Linked DNA regions of Homo sapiens: region 1 is linked to region 2. Evidence: promoter capture Hi-C in 16 types of primary human blood cells and fetal thymus (Javierre and others, 2016). All regions are on one chromosome and are shown on one strand. The core of a region is centred on a gene start or on the middle of the fragment in contact, and the rest is flanking DNA. Distances in the headings are between cores, read along the strand shown. Region 1 has its middle 41 kb from the start of CD83. Region 2 holds the start of TBC1D7 (TBC1 domain family member 7).

Region 1 (3,726 bases), core at 1,104-3,603, 750 kb after region 2:
ACACTTTGAGTGAGGAATTAACTCATCCCTCGTTCAAGGCTACACTGCCAGGGAGCCGGGATACCAGGAATGAACCCGGCCCTTCCTCCCACACATGTCCCTCCCATAAACCCTGCTCTGTCTTTTACAAATGCCATGCAGCTAATCCCAAGCATTGTGATTAATGTTCTCTTAGAATACAGAGTTATTCACAGGATTATTTGGGAGGCCCAGACAGCTTTAACAAGCTGCCTAAAGACGTTCAAGCTGATGGTTTCATTTTCACTTAGGAAGAACTTCTGACACTGATTGGGGCATTCCGTCTTTCTGTTACCCTTGCAGTCGTTGTGATAGGAAAATGTTTTTGTGTTTGATGATGAAGGTTGTTACTGAAAGAACTCAGATTTCAACTCTCTCTAGATCTCCAGGATATAAGTGAAAAAAGCAAGGTTTCAGAAACAATAAAATGCCAAGCTATATATAAGAAAGAGGGAAAACACACAGAGTCCTATTTGCTTAATTTTTTTATATGATAGGATAAAGCAAAAACTAATAAAAAACAGTTACTTATCAGGAAGAAGGGACAGGTCAGAGAGGTGAGAATGGAAGCCAGACTTCTGAGTTCACATTTTGTTGATTTGACTTTGGACTTATGTAAATGTTTTATATAATTACAAAATACAAGTGAATAAAAATAGAAAACAATCCTTCAAAATCGAAAGCAAAGTGGAAAAAAATTAACCTTGTTAATTTCTTAACTTCTAATCACTTTTGTTGAGCAAATGGGTCAACCACATATAAAGGAACTATTTCATATGGCTTTCAAGTACTGTAATATAAATACATCCCCAGTGGATTATACCTTAATGGACCAAACAACTATAAATAAATTTTAAATTGTGTTCAATAATACTACTTATTAATTATATCTTTATTTGGTAATAATATTGGTATTGTTCATTTGAAACATATGTCTGTTTATATATATGTGCAAATATATATGCATCATAATTATGTTAAAGTTATTAGGAACCAAGATTTTCAGTTTAAAAAGGTTGCAAGCATAAAATTAAACAATTTACATACAAACCCTATAACTCTAAATTTAAGTTGACAATATTGATATGAACTCATGATATATCTTCTCTTATAAAAGTATTTCTCCTACAAGCTCATGCTTGTAATCCTAGTACTTTGGGAGGCTGAGGCAGGAGGATTGCTTGAGGCCAGTTCAAGACCAACCTGGCCAACAAGCAAGATCCCATCTCTAAAATAAAATAAAATTTAAAAAAAGTATTTCTAACCACTGTTCACTAAATAATCTGGCAATGAGCATTCTTAGCACTCAGATATTTGACTCTAAATGCCAATCTCCAATAAAAGAAACCAACATTCTTTGGACAAATAGCTGATTCTAGGTTTGGGACAAGAAGTGAACAAGGTGAACCCAGAGCACATTGATTTACTAGAAAGCAAGGAGATTATCAAAGCCTTTGGAGTTGCATCATAAGAATTCTGGATTGGGAGGCTGAGGCAGGTGGAGCACCTGAGGTCAGGAGTTCAAGACCAGCCTGGCCAACATGGTGAAACCCTGTCTCTACTAAAAATACAAAAATTAGCTGGGTGTGGTGGTATGTGTCTGTAATCCCAGCTACTTGGGAGGCTGAGGCAGGAGGATTGCTTGAACCTGGGAGGCAGAGGTTGCAGTGAGCCGAGATTGCACCACTGCACTGCAGCGTGGGTGATAGAGTGAGACTTCAACTCAAAAAAAGAGAGAATTCTGGAACCAACTTGAAGGGACTCTCACTGGGCAAAGATGGAACATTTTGAGCTTCAAAAAGAATAATAACTACAGCAAATAGAATAACTTCAAGGAATCATGTATGTTAAAATCCACAAGTTAATTATAATACTCAAAAATCGTCCTCATTGTTCCCTTTTGGAAGATGCTCAGAAACCAAGTCATTATTTTAAAAGCCAATGAAGAAAATGAGTGAATGATTTATCCTGTCTTGCCTGTGTGAATTGTACTTCAGGGTTAGCAAGCAGTTGTTACAAGAAAGTTCTTTATGCAAGAATTTCAGATAATAAATGCCAGAGAACTAAGAATTTTAAATCGCATTTTTCAACCTCTAATGAAATAATGGAATCAGGCACTGATCAGCAATGGCTATTGATGCCATTATATGAAAAGCTGATGGAAAGCTTTATATGGTTGTGTCAGAGGCATTGGAACCGGAGAGACTCCATCTTGAATAGGGCTGGGTAAAATGAGGCTCACACCTGCTGGGCTGCATTCCCAGGTTAGGCATTCTTAGTCATAAGATGAGATAGGAGGTTACAAGATATGGGTCATAAAGACCCTGCTGATAAAAACAGGATGTGGTAAAGAAGCTGGTCCAAACCTGCCAAAACTAAAATGGCGATGAAAGTGACCTCTGGTCGTCCTCACTGCTCATTATACACTAATTATAATGCATTAGCATGCTAAAAGACAGTCCCACCAGTGCCATGACACTTTGCAAATTGCCATGGCATGGTCTGGAAGCTTCCCTATATGGTCTAAAAGGGGGAGCAACCCTCAGCTCCAGGAACTCCCCACCCCTTTCCCAGAAAACTGATGAATAATCCACCTCTTGTTTAGCATATAATCAAGAAAAAAAGCCATAAGTTTACTCAGTCAAGCAGCCCATGCTGCTGCTCTGCCTATGGAGTAGCCATTCTTTTGTTTCTTTACTTTCTTAATAAACTTGCTTTCACCTTACTCTATGGACTCACCCCGAATTCTTTCTTGTGCAAGATTCAAGAAACCTGTCTTGGGGTCTGGATCTGGACCCTTTTCCAGTAACAGCTGGATGAGGGCGACAGTTCTTGAGCCTGTGACCAGTCATAACATCACAAAAAAGGAGACACTCCTTCCCATGCTGGCTAGCTTTGGTGTTCCTTGGCTTACAGATGCATCACCCCTAGCTATACCATAATCTCCACATGACATTCTCATTAAAGTCCTTCTGGTGTATTCTTGCTGAAATGGCCAAACCTGAATCTGGCCATGGGATTAGGTCTACCACCCAGTTTACGGGAAACACAAGAGGACAGAGAAGCATGTTACAAATGGGATCATATGGAAGAAATCAGCAAAATCCAGAAGAAACTGGACAATGTCCTGGATTCTTCAACAACTACATTGCAAGTAGATAAAAAGAGAAAGAAGGAAACTATTATGGGTTTAATTGAGTCTTCCCAAAGTCTGTATATTGAAGTCCTAACCTCCCTTAATTCAGAATGTGACATTATTTGGAGATAGGGTCTTTGCAGAGGTAATAAAGTTGAAATGAGGTCACTAGGGTGGGCCCTAACCCAATATGACTGGGGTCCCTATAAGAAAAGTTTGGAGTCAGTTACAGATGAGGAGAATGCCATGTGGAGATTATGGTATAGCTAGGGGTGATGCATCTGTAAGCCAAGGAACACCAAAGATTGCCAGCATGGAACGGAGTGTCCCTCCCAGCCCTGAGAAGGAGCCAACTCCACCAGCCCCTTGTTACAGACTTCCGGCCTCCAGAACTGTGAGATAATCCATTGCTGCCATTTAAACCACCTGGTTTATGGTACTTTTTTTTTTTTCTTTTGTTCTTGAGACAGGGTCTCACTCTGTCACCCAGGCTGGATCAGTGGGGTGATCTCGGCTCACTGCAACCTCCACCTCCTGGGTTCAAGTGATTCTTGTGCCTCAGCCTCCCGAGT
Region 2 (3,728 bases), core at 202-2,701:
TCACCTATGCATCTTGGCTAAAAACCAAGATATAAGTTAAAAGTTCTCTGAGCTGATAAAATAGATGGCACAAGGTTTATGCACTAGGTTTCCCACTATACCTATGAGTGCCTAGCACAATAGAACATTCTGTAGCTATTATAAATGCGCAAAGAAAAAAAATAAGTGAAATGGAAGCCAGGCAAGATACGTCAAGCAAATTATACTCAAACAGTATACACTATGATTTCATTTTTTGTTTTTTACAAATTTCATGTATTTTAAAACTTAACACTCTATTCCAAAATGTTAGCAATGGTTATCTTTAGATAGTAGGATTCTAGATGATTTTAATTTCCTTTCTTTTGCTTAGCTACTTTTTTTTAAATGGGCATTTTGTAAAATGAAAAATTAAGTTATATAAAAGTAAAAAGCCACGAGTTCCTCACTTATCTTTCTTTTAAACACAATTCTATTAAGTGTAGCTATCGAAATTCAAAACCCACAACAAATAAATCGCATTAAATTATAACTAGAAGAGGGTAAAGAATGTAGCCAATTGACAGTGATCCCAAAGTCAGAGTTGAAGACGGAAAAACGATTTAAAATCTACCGCAAGAACTCAAAAAGTTCAGTGGTCTCAAGTTCCTTCACAGTAACCTTCATAATACTGGCGGTAATTCATCCAAAAAAAGACCAAGTTAGATTTGGCGTTTCAAGAACAGAAAAGATCTGATGCATTTCCCAAAAAGCACTGCACTGCCTCACCCAAATGCTTCCAGCGTCTGTGCACAAAAGAGTAAATCTTTAGGTTTAAAAACCCTGCGACGTCCCCAGTGAGCAGGGGAGGGCTTCCTTCCTTATTGAAAAGATATCCTCTGAACCGATTCAGTCACAGGAAAGATTAGGATTCGTTTAGAAAATGAAATGCTAAAGGGCTCTGAGCTTTCGGGAGCAGATGTCTTAAAAATAAAAAAGTCAGCAGCATAAAACGCGTAATGAGTGTGGGGATTTATTTTTTTAAAGCATCCAAACAGCTGCATGACGATTTGGTCGGTCCCTGTTGTCTAAGGACACCCATTCTTAGATTGCACTACAATGACAAAGGCGTCCTCTAGGAGGAAATGCTGCAAATAATATCTCCTGCCCATGCGCGTCCACCTGATGGGAAAAGTAAAAACACCCTGGTCCAAGACCCCAGGTCCCATTCTCTCTATGATGGATGCTTCACCTCTAGTAGTGCAAACACACCCGGGTTGAGACTAAGTGGTCCGGGAGAAGCAGAGGAAGCCGTGCCCTGTGCGCTGACCGACCGCCGGGCAGGCGGGCACCGTTGGGGCCCAGGGCCAGGAGGGACGAGTCCTGCGGGAAGGAGGGAGGCGGCGGGGTACCTGGGACACCCGCGCGCGCCCAGACGGCCCGGGAGACAAAACTCAGCGCCGCTGCCGCTGCCGCTGCCGCCGCCGCCGGACGTGACATCAACTCCAGGTCGCCGGGCGGGCGCCGGGCGGGCGCATGCGCAGAGGGCGCGGGCAGGAAGCTCCACCCTCACTCCAGGAAGCTCTGGCTTCGTTTGTGAAACCCGACGGGATGAAGGGCTAGGCTCGCCTCCAGAGTAGTGTAGTTTCTCCCGCCGTGGGCACCCGGCCCCTTGCTACCCCGCAAAATCTCGCGACCATTTACTCTGGCCATCCGAAGGCGCGTGCCTGGGTTGCACTCCCGTGTCCGGCCCTCGAGGTTCTTGCCTAGGGAAGACCCGAGCCCTAGGGCCGTACTTAAGCTGCCTGCGTGCAGGACCCGGGTTTTGCTTTTGCTAATTTCCTCCCCACCCCAGGTATGTGGGAATAGATGAAGACCATCCGAATGAGAAGAAAAAAGGCAGGCAGAGGAGTGCAAGTCTGATTTAGAGCAGGCAGGCTCCCTGGGTTGGTTATTGTAGGTAACTGACTGGTTTTCTGGGCAGGTTGCTGCAGGTTGTGGATTGGAGGTCTATTTTTATATTAGATTTGGCCATTGTCTTAGTATATTCAGCCTCTCAGGTAAAACACTATAACATAGGAGAAAAATGAACGTGTTTTTTTTTTAAAAAAAGATGTGCTAAATGCAAGCTCCTAATTTGTTATTAGTAGGTCTAACAGAACAGAGTTACTCTTTAAAGTAGCTACTAACACTTACAAATGCTTTCTATTTCTGTGCTTGCCTCCCTGGTCCTCGGGCTGGCTGAGCAGCAGTGCCCAAGTAGGTTTTTAAACCGCCAGGGTTTGAGAGAAATCCCCAATGATGGGTATCGTCCCTTTGAAAGTTCAAATCTCTACCAAATAAGCCACACGGATGCCAAGCTTTGAAGGAAACTTAGGACTATCAACAGTGCAGAAGTCCAGTTATAGTGCAGACAAATGTGTGTATAATGGCTAGACAGAACTTAAAAATGAAGAAACGTGTGGTGGTTGAACTCAAACACTGATGCCCCTCCCCACTCCCTTACCACCACCATCTTTAGTTCCTCAGTACTGGGGTACTAAACCTTCCTTGGGTAGTGTTCACATGAGTAAGCAGAGTTCTTCAAGTTACCTTACACAAGTTCCATTTACTTCATCTAAACCTTGGGCCGGTCACTAACTTTTATAATTGCCTTTTCTTGTCTTTAAAATCATCACCAGGGCTGGGCACTTACTGTGTGCAGGCGCTGTTCTATGGACTCAGGATACATCAGCTACCGAAGCAAAGATCCCTAACCTTGTGAAACTGACATTCTGGTGGGAGGACAGATCCAATAAAAACTAAAATAAATAAGTCAATGATGTAGTGTGTTAAAAAGTGATCGGTGCTGGCTGGGCGCCGTGGCTCATGCCTATGATCCCAACACTTTGGGAAGCCGAGGCAGGCGGATCACCTGAGGTCAGGAGTTCGAGACCAGCCTGGCCAACATGGTGAAACCCTGTCTCTAGTAAAAATACAAAATTAGCTGGGTGTGATGGCACACACCTGTAATCCCAGCTACTCTGGAGGCTGAGGCAGGAGAATCGCTTGAACCCGGAAGGCAGAGGTTGCAGTGAGCTGAGATGGTGCCGCCGCACTCCAGCCTGGGCAACGAGAGAAATTCCATTTCAAAAAATATTAATAATAAAATAAAATCATCACCAATGGTGATTATATAGAAGGTGGGAAGGGTTAAATGAGAAAGTATGTAAAGTGCTTGGCATGGTGCCTGGCATGTGGCACAGTAGGGATATATGTGAATTGGCTGTGTCAAGATCAATTAAAAATGCAAAGATGAGTCTCTAAATCATTTTATTTGGGAAAACAGAATTGCAGTTCAGGGCATACACACAGACTGGGGTGGTCTTCAGAACAACAAAGAGATGGTTGGAGGTTTCATTAGAGAAATGTTATGTATTACCTTGAAAGATAGCTCATTGACCCTAAGCAAAGTTTTTAGGAACAGGCAAGCTCTAATTTGTGAGAGAAGGTGGTAAGTAAAACTAGTCTTAGAGTTACAGCAATTCGTTTCAGCAGCTACTGGGTGAAACTGGTCTTCAGGTTATAGCAGGTCACCTTGGCAGCTGGCTTTCAATATAATTCCTGGGCAGGCACTTTGTGCCCCAACTGCTTTCTCTTCTCCCTCATCTCTGGACTCTAATTTAGCTGGGTATGAAGATTACTCCAATTCATACAATCAATTTTCAAGACTGCTGTTCACTGAATGGTGACAGCAATATGGGTGCCTTCAACTGCCCTCCATTCTGTTT

The links. Contacts are between HindIII fragments. The CHiCAGO score rates a contact against its expected background, and 5 or more counts as called.
Region 1: a contact is called between a fragment that was not itself captured here and the fragment with the promoter of TBC1D7 in region 2, in 1 of 17 cell types (non-activated CD4 T cells). The highest score is 5.7, in non-activated CD4 T cells.

Annotation. Positions count from the first base shown.
Region 1 is chr6:14,075,135-14,078,860 of GRCh38, forward strand. No RefSeq gene overlaps it. Among named protein-coding and RNA genes, the nearest start is that of CD83, 41 kb to the right of the region's middle. The HindIII fragment of the contact is 343 bases long and covers 2,183-2,525 here.
Region 2 is chr6:13,327,086-13,330,813 of GRCh38, forward strand. TBC1D7 (TBC1 domain family member 7) reads right to left here and starts at 1,452. Exons shown (of 8, transcript NM_016495.6): 1 at 1,211-1,452. TBC1D7-LOC100130357 (TBC1D7-LOC100130357 readthrough) reads right to left here and starts at 1,452. Exons shown (of 9, transcript NM_001318809.2): 1 at 1,371-1,452. It overlaps LOC124901261 (a long non-coding RNA gene), which reads left to right and starts at 1,530. Exons shown (of 2, transcript XR_007059457.1): 1 at 1,530-1,813; 2 at 2,640-2,772. RefSeq lists a silencer at 1,268-1,657 and an enhancer at 1,291-1,797. The HindIII fragment of the contact is 4,199 bases long and covers 1-2,316 here.